Linked DNA regions of Homo sapiens: regions 2, 3, 4, 5 and 6 are each linked to region 1. The links are contacts of gene promoters, found by promoter capture Hi-C in blood cells and fetal thymus (Javierre and others, 2016). All regions are on one chromosome and are shown on one strand. Each heading gives the region's core, a stretch centred on a gene start or on the middle of the fragment in contact. The rest is flanking DNA. Distances are from core to core; before and after follow the strand shown.

Region 1 (2,500 bases), core at 1-2,500:
GCTTCCTGGAGGAAGGGTCCTGTGACCTCAAACCTTGTAAGATGAGCAGCAGTGACCACGTTAAAGGGCAGAGTGTAAGATGAACTAATGGAGTGTTGAAGACAGGAAGTAGTTTGTGTAAAGGCCAAGGAGTTAACTCGAAGTTTGGCTGGACAAACACTTAGAAAGAGAGGCGGGTGCAGGGGACGGAAGAGGGGCCAGCCCGTGCGGGACAGTCTGGACTCCGGACTATCCCGAGAACTCACCATCCTTCTTGATCTTCTCATTGAGGTTGTTGATATAAATAGTGTGGTTAGGGCGGGTCTCGGGAACTGCCATGGAGTGAAGTGTTGAGGTAAGTCTTAAAGGAGGAAAAACGTGACTTTAGCCCTGGGTTTCTCCAAATCCTTTGTCCCAACGTCGGCTGCTCAAGGATCTTCCTCCGAAAAGGAAGTCAGGTAAGGCGGGAGTAGGGGCAAGGACGGAGGCAAAGCGCGACAACAAAGCGTGCGTAGGACCCGCTTCTCCAGCCCGCGTGCGGAGAGAACTCTCGAGAGATTTACTACGACTTCCAGGATGCTCTACGCGACCCGGTGGGCGGAGCACCCTAAATGGCGATTCCCATTGGCCCAAGCATCCGAAGGGCCGTCCCGGAGAAAAAACCCGGATGTGGGAGCCAGTATAGAAAAAAGGGACAGGTCCTAGGCAGCCTGGCCTCGAGCAGCAAGTTTCCTCAGACGGGCCCAGGAAGGCCCGGACGCCAAGCGTACCGCTCGCCTGCCGCCGATGGTCGTTTGCACCGGAGGTTACCTTCCGACAGGGCCGTAGTTCTCTCAACCGGCGCCTGCTACTTCCCTGAGACCAAACCACAAAGCTTTCTCTCCTGGCCCCGCCTCTGCCTTTCTGCCAGCCAATCGCCGCGCGGAAACGCAGTAGCTTGACCAATCAGAGCAAGTCTCGTTTCTGGGCTCAGCTGTTGCCAATCAAAACGATATTTGGGTTCCCGCCTAGGTAGAAAAACCCCGCCCCACTCCCTGAAAGCCCACCTCCTTCCGTGGCGCCCGGGTCTACGGACCAATCAGTGAAGGTCACGAGTCTGTACGCGTCTCGCGCTGCGGTGTCTTCCGGAGGCAATCCTTTTTGGAGTCCCGCCTCTTACCCCCGCCAGAGCTGCGTTTTCTGTCACGTGATCGCAAAATGGGCGGGAACTGTTGCGTGTAATACCACGTGATATGGGAAAGGCAGTGTGCGGGGGCCGCCATTTTCCGGGAGTGGGAGGTGCACTTTACTTCCTGACTCCTTTCCTTTTTCCAGTGGTTATCGCGGCGCCCACCGGCCTCTGATCTCTGAGTCTTCTCCAACCCACAGACGTTTTTTGTTGCTCTGGTTCCAGGACCTTCTCCACAACTAGGCCATTTTCCCTGCCAGGTGTCCTTTTTGACCTCTTGACCTCTGACTCAAAGGTCAGCTCAAAGGTTCCGAACTCGGGCCTGGGATGTGAGGGGGTACTGAACCTAAGTTCTCCGAATCTTTAGCCCTGGGTCCCTAAGTCGCATCCTTAAGGCACCTCACTCTAGATCTGAGCCTTCATATCCCAAACTCACTCATGAGTTTCCACATCCAGCCCCAAAGAATGAGTTAACTCCTACTAACTCTCCACCTAAGACTCCCGAGGTAACCCAACCGGTACCACAGATCCGGTTCCGGATTTAAGGACCCCACCCTGTTAACCGTCAGGTGCCTTATGACTTGAGTCAGCCTCGCAATTCCTGCTCCCGTGGTTTCAAATATTAGCCCTGGTCCTTTCACACCCACTGCTCAGTCCCCAGATTCTGGAACTCAGCTCTTAAACCTTTAAAATCTCCATCCCTGAGACCGTTCTCCGTTGGAGGATCCTTCCCTCCCCGCTTTCTGAACCTCTCAACACCTCCTGTAGACCCCAAAATGACTTCTCCATGCTCTCCTCCCCTAAAACCACCAATTTCTCCTCCAAAAACCCCTGTACCCCAAGCCAGCAGCATTCCATCTCCTCCTCTACCCCCAAGTCCCCTGGACTTTTCAGCTTTACCATCCCCTCCCTGGAGTCAGCAGACCCCTGTTCCCCCACCGCTCCCACTGCCTCCTCCACCCGCTGCCACAGGGCCTGCTCCCCGTCATGTCTTCGGCCTGGAGAAGAGCCAGCTCCTGAAGGAGGCCTTTGATAAGGCCGGCCCGGTCCCCAAGGGCAGAGAAGATGTGAAGAGGCTTCTGAAACTACACAAGGACCGGTAGGGTCTCCATGCCCCACCCACCACCCAGGCTCTGCCCTAGACACTTCACAGATCTCTTGGGGTGGGGGGGGGGTTCCCGTGTCCTCAAGATCAAACAGGCTGACTACTTAGGTCCCCCACCTAGATCTCTTCCATGGTGGTGTGCCTCCAGCAATGAAGAAAGCTGTCCTCACAAGTGCCCAGTCCAGTCCGGGTGCTTTGGCTCATGCATGTAATCCCAGCACTTTGGGAGGCCGAGGCGGGTGGATCAC
Region 2 (2,599 bases), core at 39-2,538, 1.5 Mb before region 1:
GCACTGGTGAGGAGCCTGTCTAAGGTGGACTAGGTACCCCGCAAGCGAGGAGGCTGGGATTGAAGCCCTGGGTACCGGGAGCCTGAGCTCCGCAGGCCTTCCCTATCTGTGACTTTTCTGTCTCCCCGCCCATCTTCTGGATTCGTCCCCCACCCAGCCCCCCCAACTCCCGCCCGCCACCCATACGCCCCTCCTTCGGAACCTCAGAGTCTTTTTTGAGACTCTGTTTCCAGGCTATGCCTGTGAATATTGCTTCTATTTGGCCTCTACCCTGCTGCCGGCTCCTGGGCTCCATCAGATCTGCGCTGTGATTTCCTGTTTCCCAGAGCCTCAGGCTTCATCCTTCCCTCCCGGCTGAGGCAGAGAACGGAGACTTAACACTTCTCTACGCTCTGGCTTTCGATCTTAAGCCCTGTCTTCCTCTCTCCTGGCGACCCTCAGTGCCCCTTGGGAGCACATTTGTTCAGACTTTGGTCGCCCCCTCGTATCCCGGCCCCGCCTCCGGAACCCCCGGTCCTAGTAGTGGACGTGGGGGGACCTCCGGCGCCAGCCCTATCCCCGGGACAGCTGCAGCCTGGGGACGGTGGTGGTGGGGGCTTCCAAATGCATTCTCTCTGGTCACTTCCTCCCCAGCTGGACGGGGGTTATCAGGGAAGCCAAGACCCCATCCCCACAGGAGCGGAGGGCACAGCCGCCTCCCCATTTCCGATGCTGGGAAATGCATCCCACCCATTCCACCCCACCCCTGGACAGCTGCCCCCATTCAGGCTCAGGGTTGGGGGGTTGGGTAAAACCAAGCTGGGAAATGCTGTGGTCTTCATCATCTTCTAAGGTCCTGACCCCGCCCCTCTGCAGAGAAGATTCTGCCCCCTCCCCACAAAAGTTTCTGACCCCCGCTTCCTCGGAAGGGCCCCCCGTTTTCCCATACAGGCTCCCAAAAGAAACTCTGGAGCCCGCAGTGGGCAGGAGAGGAGGAGGGGCAGCAGGTAGCGAGTGCCGAAGACTTAAGTTAGCTGCAGACTCGGAGCCTCTGACTAGGGTCATGACCCGCGGGACCCCATCCCACCCCCACCCCCTCCTTCCTCCCTCCCCCGCCGCGCGGCCCCTTTAAGCCCAGAGCCGGCCGGTCCTCAGTGGCTGCGCGCCGACGAGCGTGTGTGTGAGTGCGCGGGGAGGGGGCGGGCGCAGTGTCTCCATGGCGACGCGGCGGTGACGTCGCCGGCCGGGGGGCGTGGGCGTCCCGGCCCCGGAGTGCGATATTAACCCGGGAGGCGGCGGCGGGGAGGGGAGAGGCTCTGAGAGGCGAGGCCGGGTGAGGCGGCGAGGGCGGCCCGACGGGCGCGGGACGGGACGGGGCAGCGAGGGCGCCGGGAGCCGCGGCCCGGAATCGGGGCGCTTCGCCCCGGGCCCCCCAGCATGAAGACCCCGGCGGACACAGGTGGGGGCGGGGGCAGCACGTGTGGGGGAGACTTGTTGCCCCGGGAAACCGAACGGAGAAACTTTGGGGGGGCTGAAGGGGTCCGGGGGAGCCCGAGTGATCCCCAGTTCTGGGGGACCCCTCAAGCACTGGAGACCTGTTGCTTCTCGTGGCGCGAGCGGGGTTGCTGCCTGGGACCCCCGATTCCTGGCTCCGGGCGGAGTGGTGTGGGTGCTGCGGGTCTTGGTCCTGTATCCCTACCGGGACCCCGCAGGCCGGGCTCTCCCCCACTCCCGGGATCACGGGGGTGGCGGGGTCCTTCCCCTCCGCTCTTGTCACGTTGCACTCTGGGGGCCGGGACGTGTGCGGGGCGGGGGGGCTCGTCCACCGGGCCCGCTATCCCTGGTTCTGCGCTGCGCGGTCCTGCTGGTGACCTTCACGGCGGCGCGTGCCCTGCACCAGGTTAGCGGGGGATACGGGATGGCCTCTAGGAGGAGGGCGTGAGTGGGGAGCCCGGGACTCGGGGTCCTGGCTGCGCCGCCCCTCCCCCGCCCGCCTCTGTCGGCTCCTCGCTCCCCCGCCCTCGCCGAGTCGCAAAGTTCCAAAGCGCAGCCCGAACGTTCGAAAAAGGAACTTTTTGTTTCCGACCTTAGAACGCGCGGCTTTAAGGTGGCTCCGGGGAGACCTGGGTACCCTCCTCCCGCGCCACCGGTGGCCCGGGGTTGAGGAGGGTGGGGAAGGTGGGGGGAGACGCAGAGGCTCCCCCCTCGCCCCCCCTCCCGGATCCACCTCTTCTCTTTCAGCGGGCCGTCTCTTCCCTCCGCCCCTCTCTTCCCCGCCAACTTGCTCCTCCTTAAGGGGCCAAGGTTCCCCTCCCCCTCGGTCGGCGGGCGGGGGGCAGCGGGATTAACTCCCCCTCCCACTCGGACTTTTCCCCCTCCCCTCCCCCGCCGCCCCCGGGCTCGCGCGGGCTGGACTTTGCGCCCGAGCGCGCAGGGGGAGGGGTCCCAGCCGCCCCCTGCCCGTCTACCCCGTCGGAATCCGGCCCGGGGCGGGGACGGGGGAGGGGGAAGGGGGCCGGGCGCCGCTGTTCAAACTTGTTTCCTTCCCCCGGCGGCGGCGGCGGCGGCGGCGGCGGCTCGGGCTCCTGTGTGCGGGTGTGTGCCCCGACCGGCCCACCCA
Region 3 (2,599 bases), core at 67-2,566, 1.4 Mb after region 1:
TGGAAGAAGCTTTTGGAATATGATGCTGAGAGTCCTCTGGAGATTTCAGGCAATTGCTGGAGATTTTTAGAATGAGTGGGGGTGGGGAAGGGGATCCCGGTGAAGATCACTGGGCTACATGAGGGTGATCTCTAGGGCATTTTAGGGTGGTGAGACCAGGGGGAGACAGGAGGCCTCTGGGGGAGACTTTTGGGATCTGTGGAAAGGTCCAGAGGGATACGTGAAGGGGGAGTGTGTATGAGAGATGGTTGCAATACGGTGGGGAGGGGGATGGAGTCTTCTAGGTGAGTTTTTGGGATCTGGGGGCATTTCACAAAGTCTGTGAGGAAGATTTATTTTGGGGATATGGGAAGGAGATCTTCAGGGAAGATGATCACGGTCCGTCGGGGGCATTCTGAAGGACTTCTGGGAGGGGGAATCAGAAATGCAGGGGGTATGAGCGGAAAATCTCCAAGGAGGTTTCTGGAATGGGGTAAGTGGGAGGGAAAATTCTTAGGATCCGGGAGGGGGAAGTCGGGTGAGCCTGTTGGGCTGTGAGAGGCAGGGCTCCGGGGGAGAGTTCTGGAATGGACAGGGGTCCGGAGGGAGCCTTGGGGAGGTGTGCAGGGCTCGTGAGGGAGGCTCCTGGAGCAGCTATGAGAGCCACGCTGTGGAATGGACGAGGAGTGGCCTCCGAGGACTATTTCTGGAGACAGGAGGAGGACGGGGGCTTCGGGGCCAAAGGGCGGGGGTCTGCGAGGAAAGCTGCTGGGACCCATGAAGGGCTCGAGGAGGCGACTCCACGGGAGGGGTGGGTTTTGCGGGGACCTTTCAGGGCGCACACGGGGGATCGGCAGGCTTTCCGGGGCTCTCCGAGGGGGATGTGCGGGGGGTCCTGAGGAGAGGCCCCCGGCCCGGCCCCTCGGCAATCCCGAGGGCATGAGAAAGATTTCGGAGGGAAGCTTCGGCCAGGGCCCAGGAGGGAGACTGGGGACGGGCGCGGGGCTTCTCCCGTGGGGCCCGGCCCCCCGAGGCCCGCGTTCCGCACCCGCCCGCCGCCGCCGCCCGCGGTTCGGGGTCCCTGAGGGGGCGGGGCCGCCCGCGCGGCCTGGGTCGCCCTGAGGGGAGCCCCGCGCGCCCCGACTCGCCGCCGCCCCGCGCCGGCCCGGCCCGAGACTCACCGCCTCGGCCTTCGCCGCCACCGCCGCCGCTCGGGCCTCCTCAGGCCACCGCCGCCGCCGTCGCCCCCTCTCGGGCCCGCAAGCTCCCCTCCCTCCTCCCGCACCGACCACCGCCGCCGCCGCCGCCGCCGCCGTCGCGCTGCGTCACCGCGCCGTGCGTCACCGCCCCTGGCCCCGCCCCGACGGGGGCCGCCGCGCGCCGGCATTAGCTCACGCCCGGGTGACGAACGGCGCGCCAGCCAACGGGCGGCGAGGGCAGCCCGAAGGGCGGGAGGTGTGAGCCGAGTAAGGCGGGGTCGCGGCGAGGGGGGAGCGACGGTGGTGGAACGGGGCCCAAGAGGCCCGCCCCCTCCTCGGCGGGATTGGTCGGACGTGGGGGTGACGGGCAGTCGGCCAGGCCTGGGGTTTGGGGCTGGGGGGCGGGGAAGGGGCGGGGCGCGCGGGGCGTTGCCCAGGGCAACGGGCCCGGCGGAGTCTGAGGTTGGGCCTCCAGGCCCGCAGGGGGCAGGCTCGCGCGCGTCCACCCCAGCTGCCCCGAGCGAAGTCACAGTTCCTGATTCAGGCGTTCCAGGCCTCCTCTTCCCCGCCCCTTGGGTGGCCCGCCTCACCCAAGGCTGTCCTCAGTGGGCGTCTGCACTCGGGCTTCTGGGCGCTCGGCTTTCTCATCGCGCTGTTCTCAGCCTTGCCGCTTGCTCTCTCCGATGGGAATGGCGAGGCGAGATCTAGCCTTTAGGGTGGGAAGAGAATGCACAGAAAGCGCTAAGGATCAAGGAGGCTGTCAATAAACGGGAGTTGTTGCTGTGACTTTGGTTGTGATCTGTGCGTTCCACAAACTGTATTGGGTCCGGGTGAACTAATCAGAGGGACCTGTGTTCAGAAGGCTCTCGGTGACAGAGATCTGGCTTGTTACAGGCACTTAGAGAGGCAGTCGGGATGGAGGGTCGAGTTGAAGACAGGGAGGGGTGAGGAACGAGCAGAGGCCAGTTGTTTGGCCACTTGAGGGAGTTTGGACTTGTCCCGAGGGCACTAGGGAGCCGTGAAGGGCTTCAAGCCGGGGAGGATCATGGTGAGTCTGGGGTTTTGGAGAGATGTCTCTCTGGCTTATACATGGAGGGCGGATTGGAGGGAATGAAACGGGATCGGGAGTCCAGGGAGGCAGCTGGGGGAGGGGGTGGGGAAGAAAGAGGGGGTTTGCACGAGGGAGGGACTGTGGGGAGGGAAGGAGGTGCAGGTGGGAGGGACGCCCTGGAGGCAGAGCGAACGGGCCCTGACACTGGCTGGCTATGGAGTGGAAGGGGGAGAAAAGTTTAGGACCAGGCCCCTCTAGCCGGGAGACTGGGCGCCAGAAGCAGGTTGGGAAGATACTAAGCCCAATGTGGATGCCTAGTAGCGAGGTCCAGGAGGTGCACAAACCCTGGGTCTGGAGCTTAAGGGAGAAA
Region 4 (2,599 bases), core at 50-2,549, 1.4 Mb after region 1:
CAGATCTACACTCTTTCTTGAGATCACTCAGTCTCAGGTTTTCTTTTCAACTGGCACCTTCCCTCCTGACTTTCCAAAGTAATATTCGTTTCCATTCCTATAGCTGTCACCACTCCATCCTCCCAGAGGCCCGCTCTCACCTGAGCTTCTCGCCAATAACCTAAGGGTCCTCCCTCACCTATCAATCAAGGGCAGAATCTCCGTATAAGCCAGTACTCTCCTCAGGCTTTAACGACCAGAGCCCAGTTTCTCCTTTAAACAACCCCTCACTCAAGCTCCGGCCAGTCCCAGCCTCAGCATCAGCGCTGATCCCATCTCTGCCGAGCTTCGCTTAGGTCTCGCAGAAAACAACAGTTTTATTTATTTATTTATTTATTTTTTTGACGGAGTCTCGCTCTGTTGCCCAGGCTGGAGTGCAATGGCACGATGTCGGCTCACTGCAACCTCCGCCTCCTGGGTTCAAGCGATTCTCCTGCCTCAGCTTCCCGAGTAGCTGTAATTACAGGCGCGCGCCACCATGCCCGGCTAATTTTTGTATTTTTAGTAGAGACGAGGTTTCACCAGGCTGGTCTTGAACTCCTGACCTCAAGTGATCCGCCCGCCTCGGCCTCCCAAAGTGCTGGGAACACAGGCGTGCACCAGCCAGGCCAAAACAGCAGGTTCTATTCCTCTTTCTGCTTAGCGCTCTCTCCGACTAACCTGGCCCTCGGCCTGCCCCTCTAGACTACCAAATCCAGTTTGCTTCTCGCTGCTTAAGGCCAATCACCTGTAGACTCTCCTTCAGCTGCGGGATGAGCATCTTATAACGCTGCACAGGATCGAAGTCCTGTTGCTGTTGCTGCAGGAGGCCGCTCTGGGCAGGGCCCACCAGTTGTGCTGGCGGTTGCGGCTGCTGCTGGGGACCCGGGCCGCCAGCCGAACTAGGACCCGATACACCAGCAGCTGAGGAAGCCGCTGAAGCTTGCTGCTGGGATGCAGCCATCTTCCTCGCGTAGACCGCCGGAAGTGCGTTACGACTGCGTCTCTCCCCGTTGCTTTTCAGCATCCCTATTTCTAGTCCCCGTTTGCTAGTTAGTCCCGCCCCCTAGGCAATTAAGCCAATGGAGGGGAAGGAGGTGCCCCAACGTTACGTCACTCTCAAATCTGCGTCCAGACTGAGATATCTCTCCACCAATCACAGAAGCACCTCTCTCCCTCGCTCCGCCCTTCACCCAGACGCTCGCCAATCCGTGTGTGGTTCCGAGCCGGACTTCATTTCCCCGAAGGCGTCGCGGCCTGAGGAGACCCGTTGGGTCCTCAGCGTCTTGGCGGCAGTTGGTGGAACCGGAGCTTCGAGTCCGTCCCCGGTGCTGCCTGCGCGTTCACCTGAGTCTCGCTGGAGCTCTTCTCGCCCGCCCACCTCATCTCAACCCACTTTCCGCGGGGAGCGGCGCCAAGCTGGGCCTTCCTCGGATCAGGCGTCCCCTGAAGTCGGCACGCCCCTCTGCGTCCCCCTTCGGTCCCGCTAGGACCCCGTCCGGGCTGCCGTCGCCTCGTCGCTATGGCGCCCACCATCCAGACCCAGGCCCAGCGGGAGGATGGCCACAGGTAGGCGCCACGCTTTTCTGTTGCAGCAAGGCGGGGGATCGGGAGAGGGTTTCTGCTGAACAACGTCACCAGCCCCCAGGTCTGCCCGTGACGTCATGAAGCGCTCACCTTTGACGAAGGGGGCGGGTTCCTTCTGAGATTCAGGTGTTCCCCTCCTCCCCGCCGTGCAGTTCAGGGATTAGGCTTTTGGAGACTCCCTCCAGAAGGGATCCCTCCAGTCAACCGTTTGGAGACCCCTCTTCCGAAGACGATTGAGTACATGGTTCTTTATTAAAGCACTTGAAGCCATCTCCTGCAAAAGGGATTGAGCACTTGGCCTTGTTCATTAAAGCTTTTGGGGGCATTTCTTCCTAAATAAATTGAACATTTGTCTCCTTCCATTAAAGCATTTGGACACTCCCCACACCACCACCCAAAGAAACCAGCATTTGTCACCCCTCCTACCTTTTGAAAGGTTGGGGAAGCCTTTTTCATTCTCCTGTCAATCCCGTCCTCTCCACCTATCACTGTTTCTTTCTTCTCCACTAGGCCCAATTCCCACCGGACTCTGCCTGAGAGGTGAGCCCCACTGTGCTTTCCCAGGAGCGGTGGGGCAGTGGGGCTGGGAGCAGAGGTGGGGCAGCGGGGGCCCACTTTTGAGCCACTAATGTTCCTAGGTCTGGAGTGGTCTGCCGAGTCAAGTACTGCAATAGCCTCCCTGATATCCCCTTCGACCCCAAGTTCATCACCTACCCCTTCGACCAGAACAGGTGAGACTAAGGAATGGGAAAACTACTCAGGTATGAGTTCCTTGAAGGCAGGGACTGCTTGTCTCGTTGGCTGCTGTCTGCTCAGGGCCTAGCACAGTACCTACCCTAGCACATAGTAGTAGCTGCTCAATTGTTAATGGAGCAAGCAGTGTCCAAGTCCCTTCCCACTGGGGAGCCAGCTTTCAGACTCTGCCATGGGGGACACTTCATTCTGAGTTCCTCCCCAGAGAAGCTCCGCCTCTGGGAAGCAGGGCTGTGAGGGG
Region 5 (2,599 bases), core at 100-2,599, 1.1 Mb before region 1:
AGTCAGGGTCTGACACCCGCTGGGGACCGCGTCCCTCACCTGCTCCAGGTGGAAAGAGAAGCCATCGCCGCCACCGGAACCGAAGCCTCCGCGCTCGGGCTCCGCACTCTCCCCACCCCTGCCGCCGCGTCGCTCTAGCCGCCCTGAGTCCACCTTTGCGCCCAGCTCCACTCCTCCTGCCAGCCGCTCTAGCCCGGCTCCTGCCGGGCTCCGGCCCCGACGACTCTACTCCTCCCGCCGGCCGCTCTAGCGCTGTACTGCGCCACGCAGGCCAGATAGGGCCGCTCTGGCCTGTCTTGGAGGGCCAGCGTTTCCGTATCTCGACTGCCCCCGTCACTCCCCGGGCCCCGCCCCGCGCCCGGAGGTGCAGATGGGTCCAACTCCTCCCGAGTTCGATCGGAGATCTCCTAGTCACCCCAGCGCTGAGCACTCGGACGGCGGACTGGGGCTCCCCGTCCTATTAGTCTCCCCACTTAGGGGACCCGCTGAATTTCCAATCCTCGTACATCAATCCCCTCCGTCTCCCACCCCCAGCCCCTTCCTTTGGAACCGGAAAAGCAATAGTCTTGAGTTCCAGCACAACTTTCCCTCTGACATGCAGTGTAATCTGCAAAAAGTAATGACTTCTCTGTAGACCTCAGTCTTCCCATCCGTACAATGGGAGAAGGCCTCCAGCTCTCTCCCTACACCTGTCTCTCACGGTATAATTAATGACCTAGAAAAGAGCTTTCCGAAAACTCTTTCAAATGCACTCTGCAACTTTCAGCTTCACAGCGACCCTCGTCGTTGTTGTTATTGTTGTTTTTCATTTTTAGGTGGCCCTAAAGCATGCGGGGGTTGGAGGATGGCGCTTTGCGGAAAGCACGTGCGAGTTCAAATCCCAACTCCACACTTTCTCACGATGTGCGTTCCCTGGGACGAGTCGGTTTGGCTCCCCGGGCCTCGGTTTCCCCACCCGTACAATGGTAGTGATCGTCCGTTCTCCACTGAGCAGGTGGGAGGCCTTGGCCCCGGCCTCGCACCGTTCGTCCCCACCTATGGGGCACTCGTCAAGTGTGAGTTCTCCCCTCTTTGCTCCCTTTGACAGATGGGAAAACTGAGGCCCAAGGAGGGGCGGCCGCTGGTTCCGTGGGGTCCGAAGGGGGCCCCTCCGCTGCCGGCAGCGCCCCAGCCCCTCCCTCCTCCTCCCCACTTCCCCCAACAGCCGAGGGGAGGAGGCCGGGCGGGGCCGGGGACCGAGTACCTGGTGTCCGCGCGGAGGTGACCGGCGGGGCGCCCGAGGTCGGGCTCGGCGATCCCGGGCCCTGGGTCCCGGCTCCCGCTTCCTGGCTCTGGCGGGGCAGGAAGTCGGGGCGTTTTTCCGGAGGCCCCCGCCCCGCCGCCCCTCCCCGCTTCCTGCCCGCGCCCCGCGCCCGCCCGGCACCTCCGCTTCCTTCCCCTTCTCGCCGCTTGCCCGCCCCTCCTTTCCCCGCTGCGCCCGGGTCCCTGCGGGCACCGGCCCCCGCCCCGGCCGCGCCCGAGCTCTCCCCGGCTTTGTCCATCGGTCCGTCCGCCGGGCGCGGGCTCCGCGGGACTCGCATCTCCCGGCTGGGGTCACCTCCCCGGAGGTGCTGGGGGGCAAGCCCTGCTCCCCGTGCGCCCTAGACCGAGCCACGACCTCCCCGGCTTTCCGCGTCTGTGGTTCTCATGGTCTTGCGCCCTTCCTTCGCCTCTGTGGGTGTGCTCCCGCCTGCGTCTGCATCCCCTTCTCTGTCCCTCTGTCTTTCTCTACTGGGGTCTTTCCCTCCTTGGCCTCCACCTCTCCTCTCTGTCCCTCCATCACTTTCTCCCCGAAAGCCCTTCTCTACCCTCTCCAGCTCTCTCTGTATCTTTCTGCATCTCCGTCTCAGTCTCTGTCATTTCCCCAGCTGTTGCTGTGCCTGGGCCTCTTCGTGCCCATTTTCGGTTGCCCCTTCTCCCTTCTGTCTCTTCCTTTCCTTCTCGCTCTCTCTCTGTCCCTTTCTCTCCACGTCCCTGTCTCTCTCCCGGATTCCCAGGGTCTCATCATCTCTTCCTTCCCTTGCTCGTCCCCTTCATGATCCCTGGGTCTCAGCCTCTCTCCTCTCCCTTTCTCAGGAAATCCGTGTCTCTGTGCCTCTCTGTCATTGCCCCGGGATCTCCCTGCTATCCCCAGGTTAGGACCACAGACCCTCCAAAATGCCCCTTCTGTAAGTCAACGCATCGGGAAAAGGCTGCAGTCTGAATTCTGTACTAGCCCCAATCCACAAGATAGTCCCTGTGTTTCCAAGGCTTAAATACGCATAAAGTGGCTCATGCCTGTAATCCCAGCACTTTGGGAGGCCGAAGCATGGTGGATCACTTGAGGTCAGGAGTTCGAGACCAGCCCGGCCAACATGGCGAAACCCTGTCTCTACTAAAACAAAAATTAGCTGGGTGTGGTAGCACATGCCTGTCATCCCAGCTACTCGGGAGCCTGAGGTACAAGAATCGCTTGAGGTGGAGGTTGAAGTGGGCTGAGATTGCGCCACTGCACTCCAGCCTGGGCGACAGAGTCAGACTCTGCCTCAAAAAAAAAAAAAAAAAAAAAAAAAGCGGCCGG
Region 6 (2,599 bases), core at 40-2,539, 1.1 Mb before region 1:
GATGTAAAAGATGGATCCAAACCCAGGGAGTCTGCCTCCGTGTATATAGAAAGGATTAAACCACCTGTAAGCAAAATATGAACATTCATCTGTCTCTGGTTTCCCCTGAGGCTCAAAGCCACAGGTCCTCCTCTCACAAAGCTCTTAGAATGTCATAAAAACTTGGAGTACCAAGTTATCGAATGTCACATCACACAAAGCAAGTGGTGACACAACCAAGGGTTTCTCTCCCTCTTGGGGCGGGAAAGAGCTCAGAGGAGACAGGGAAGTATGGTTTGTGCCAGGGGTCACCCAGCTCCCCACTCTCCAGCCAAAGACCTAAGTTCCTCACCAGCTCGCGTGTAGAACCAGTTCTCATCGTAGGGAGCAAGCTCTTTGTGCTTGGCCAGCTTGACGGTATCCACCCATTCGGGGACTTTCAGCTTCCCGGACCTAAGACCAAAACAGTGGGAAAAGCACGATTCAGTCATCTCCACAAACTACCCCATATCCCAAATGCCCTCCCCTCAACACAACTATGCTGTGCCCAGAGTACAAAGAGAGGCTGGAACCGGAACACAAGCCAGGCCTCACGCTGAAAGGAGCCACGGAGGCCCCAAACAAGCCTCGCCTGCCAGGGACCGGCAAACACTGGGGCTCAGATGGGCAGGCCAAGGCGACAGCCTCCACCCGTTTTGAACCTCAGTCCCCAAACTCACTTTTTGAGGAAGGCTGCCAGAGCTCTGACGAACTCCTGCTGGTTCACGTCTTTTACAGTAACTCCAGGCATCTGAGGGAGAAAGTCAAGCATGTGAACACAGGCCTGGCAGAGACGACTGCCAAGAGCACGGACCCCACCCCAATCCTTTCGCTCCAGCGCATCCTAAACCGTGGTACCCCCCGTTACTTCCCACGGCCCCTTCAACGCCGGGCTCCGGCTCCTGCGGGTCTGAAGGAGCTCACCGACGCCCACGGCCTCTCTGGATCGCACTAACAGAGCCCGGCCCCTGCGTGTGAGGATCCTGCGCGACCCCACTCCCCAGCCCCGGGACTCCGGACGCCCCACGCACCCCGCCGCTGCCCCCCGGGGCCCACGCTCGGTTCCCGGACGGCGCTGACCGGGCATGTCCGGGCCTGCCGCTCGCACGTGGCCGCGGCTCTAGGGGGCGGGACGGGCCCGCGCCGGGCGCCTCGGGGCCCTCAGGCACGCGCTCTGAGGCTTCGGCGTCCGGCCCTGCCGCCTCGCGCCCGGTCCAGCTCGGAGCCCCCGCTTACCGTGCGGCCTCCGCGCTGCCAGCCAGGGGAAAGGGAACGACGGGGTTTCCCGGGCGCACAAGTCGGGCGTAGGGTCTCGCGAGAGTTCCGAAAGCTCGCGAGAGCGAGGGTAGACGCTGAGGCTCCGCCTCTCTCAGGGCGAAAGTTCGTCCCCGCCTAGAGGGGAGGGTGTCTAGTGAGGGGTGGAGAGGTAAAGGGGAGGGCCAAGGGGTCGCGCGTGGAGGCCTGGGTTTCCTCCCGCGTTTCCTTCTCCCGGAGTGTAATAGAGAGAGGATAGAGAGCTCCTGTTCGGAGCTGGGGGAACTTGGCTTCGTTTGCGTCGTTCGTGGCTGGAAGGAACAGTGGTGGAGAATACTATGATGGCGAAAGTACGGGGCAGGATGGGTGGGCCACAGCTGGCGCCCCACGGCGGAACAACCCCTTTTCCGGGTGGAAGTGGCTGTTCCCTGGCCGGAAGTGGGAGTAGTAAGGGCGGAACTGTGACAGGGAACCTAGGGGAAGGGCGAGGAAGAAATGTGGCTATCATCTTCCGTCCTTCACCGCCAGGAGTCGCGAGAGCGGGAGACGGAAGCCCCACCCTTCTCAGGGCGGAAGTTGCTTCAGCACGGCCGGGGCGAGCGAAAAGGGAATGAGGCGCTGGAGGAGGGGAGAAGATAAGGGCGGGACAAAGCGGCAGAGGCGGGACCTTAGCAGAAGTTAGTTCAGCTCTGCCTTCTAGTGTCGGAGTCTGTTCGCTCAGCCCTTACTTTGCCAATTTAGATTTACCTGCCCCGCTGACCTGTGTAGCTTTAGGCAGTCCATTTGCCTTCTCAGGGCTTGTCTCACCATTAAAAAAAAAAAAAAAAAATGAGATCCCCGTTTGTCCATTTAAAGTGGCTCCTCTGGTTCATGGCGCGTCACATGCTCTAAAAAATATTTTTTGAGTGCCTGCTCTGTGCCAGGCACAGGTAAATATTATTTGGACATTTATCATGTGGCTGTTACTGTAGTGTTACATGCATGATCTCATTTAATCCTTACAAGGCCCAACAACTAAATAACGTGGTCCAATAAAATTATGTTAACTTGTTGCAAAAAGGAAACACTGAAATGTGTGTAGCTATTTTCTTATGTTGGAAAGACTGAGAATTTAAAACATAAGAGCAAATATTAGAATTTTACCCCACACTGATACTGTGGCTGCAAAATGTGTTAATTATTAATAAGCCAAGACTCGTATCTGTTAGAAAAATTAAAACCAACCATGCTTCTAGCATAAGATCATATATTTAAATCAAGGTTTTACATTCATGTAGAATGTTGTTGAAACCTATCTCATACTGTTTCTAAAACTTGAGAAAATATT

The links. Contacts are between HindIII fragments. The CHiCAGO score rates a contact against its expected background, and 5 or more counts as called.
Region 2: the fragment with the promoter of ERF here is called in contact with the fragment with the promoter of ACTMAP in region 1 in 2 of 17 cell types (fetal thymus and total CD8 T cells); the score reaches 6.2 in fetal thymus.
Region 3: the fragment with the promoter of SAMD4B here is called in contact with the fragment with the promoter of ACTMAP in region 1 in 1 of 17 cell types (naive CD4 T cells); the score reaches 5.4 in naive CD4 T cells.
Region 4: the fragment with the promoter of PAF1 here is called in contact with the fragment with the promoter of ACTMAP in region 1 in 1 of 17 cell types (fetal thymus); the score reaches 5.8 in fetal thymus.
Region 5: a contact is called between the fragment with the promoter of ARHGEF1 here and the fragment with the promoter of ACTMAP in region 1, in 1 of 17 cell types (naive CD4 T cells). The highest score is 5.1, in naive CD4 T cells.
Region 6: a contact is called between the fragment with the promoter of RPS19 here and the fragment with the promoter of ACTMAP in region 1, in 3 of 17 cell types (naive CD4 T cells, total B cells and naive CD8 T cells). The highest score is 6.6, in naive CD4 T cells.

Annotation. Positions count from the first base shown.
Region 1 is chr19:40,749,227-40,751,726 of GRCh38, reverse strand. ACTMAP (actin maturation protease) reads left to right here and starts at 1,250. Exons shown (of 6, transcript NM_198476.5): 1 at 1,250-2,246. The coding sequence starts at 1,924. SNRPA (small nuclear ribonucleoprotein polypeptide A) reads right to left here and starts at 524. Exons shown (of 6, transcript NM_004596.5): 1 at 246-524. The coding sequence starts at 318. RefSeq lists enhancers at 1-545, 633-702, 1,243-1,482, 1,174-1,799 and silencers at 456-638, 903-1,042. The HindIII fragment of the contact is 2,474 bases long and covers 856-2,500 here.
Region 2 is chr19:42,253,817-42,256,415 of GRCh38, reverse strand. It overlaps ERF (ETS2 repressor factor), which reads left to right and starts at 1,288. Exons shown (of 4, transcript NM_006494.4): 1 at 1,288-1,438. The coding sequence starts at 1,417. RefSeq lists enhancers at 60-591, 1,232-1,731 and silencers at 1,087-1,486, 1,497-2,186, 2,267-2,336, 2,427-2,546, 2,567-2,599. The HindIII fragment of the contact is 3,576 bases long and covers 1-2,599 here.
Region 3 is chr19:39,341,138-39,343,736 of GRCh38, reverse strand. SAMD4B (sterile alpha motif domain containing 4B) reads right to left here and starts at 1,316. Exons shown (of 14, transcript NM_001384574.2): 1 at 1,161-1,316. RefSeq lists a silencer at 1,198-1,627. The HindIII fragment of the contact is 6,593 bases long and covers 944-2,599 here.
Region 4 is chr19:39,389,806-39,392,404 of GRCh38, reverse strand. It overlaps PAF1 (PAF1 component of Paf1/RNA polymerase II complex), which reads left to right and starts at 1,299. Exons shown (of 14, transcript NM_019088.4): 1 at 1,299-1,587; 2 at 2,116-2,145; 3 at 2,244-2,336. The coding sequence starts at 1,541. It overlaps MED29 (mediator complex subunit 29), which reads right to left and starts at 1,027. Exons shown (of 4, transcript NM_017592.4): 1 at 767-1,027. The coding sequence starts at 982. It also overlaps a transcript of SAMD4B not described here. RefSeq lists an enhancer at 683-972 and a silencer at 2,510-2,599. The HindIII fragment of the contact is 958 bases long and covers 963-1,920 here.
Region 5 is chr19:41,881,934-41,884,532 of GRCh38, reverse strand. ARHGEF1 (Rho guanine nucleotide exchange factor 1) reads right to left here and starts at 1,349. Exons shown (of 29, transcript NM_004706.4): 1 at 1,244-1,349. RefSeq lists an enhancer at 65-274 and silencers at 141-290, 1,155-1,664. The HindIII fragment of the contact is 8,882 bases long and covers 1-2,599 here.
Region 6 is chr19:41,858,945-41,861,543 of GRCh38, reverse strand. It overlaps RPS19 (ribosomal protein S19), which reads right to left and starts at 1,289. Exons shown (of 6, transcript NM_001022.4): 1 at 1,255-1,289; 2 at 699-769; 3 at 332-432. The coding sequence starts at 769. RefSeq lists silencers at 968-1,087, 1,148-1,277 and an enhancer at 831-1,586. The HindIII fragment of the contact is 18,374 bases long and covers 1-2,599 here.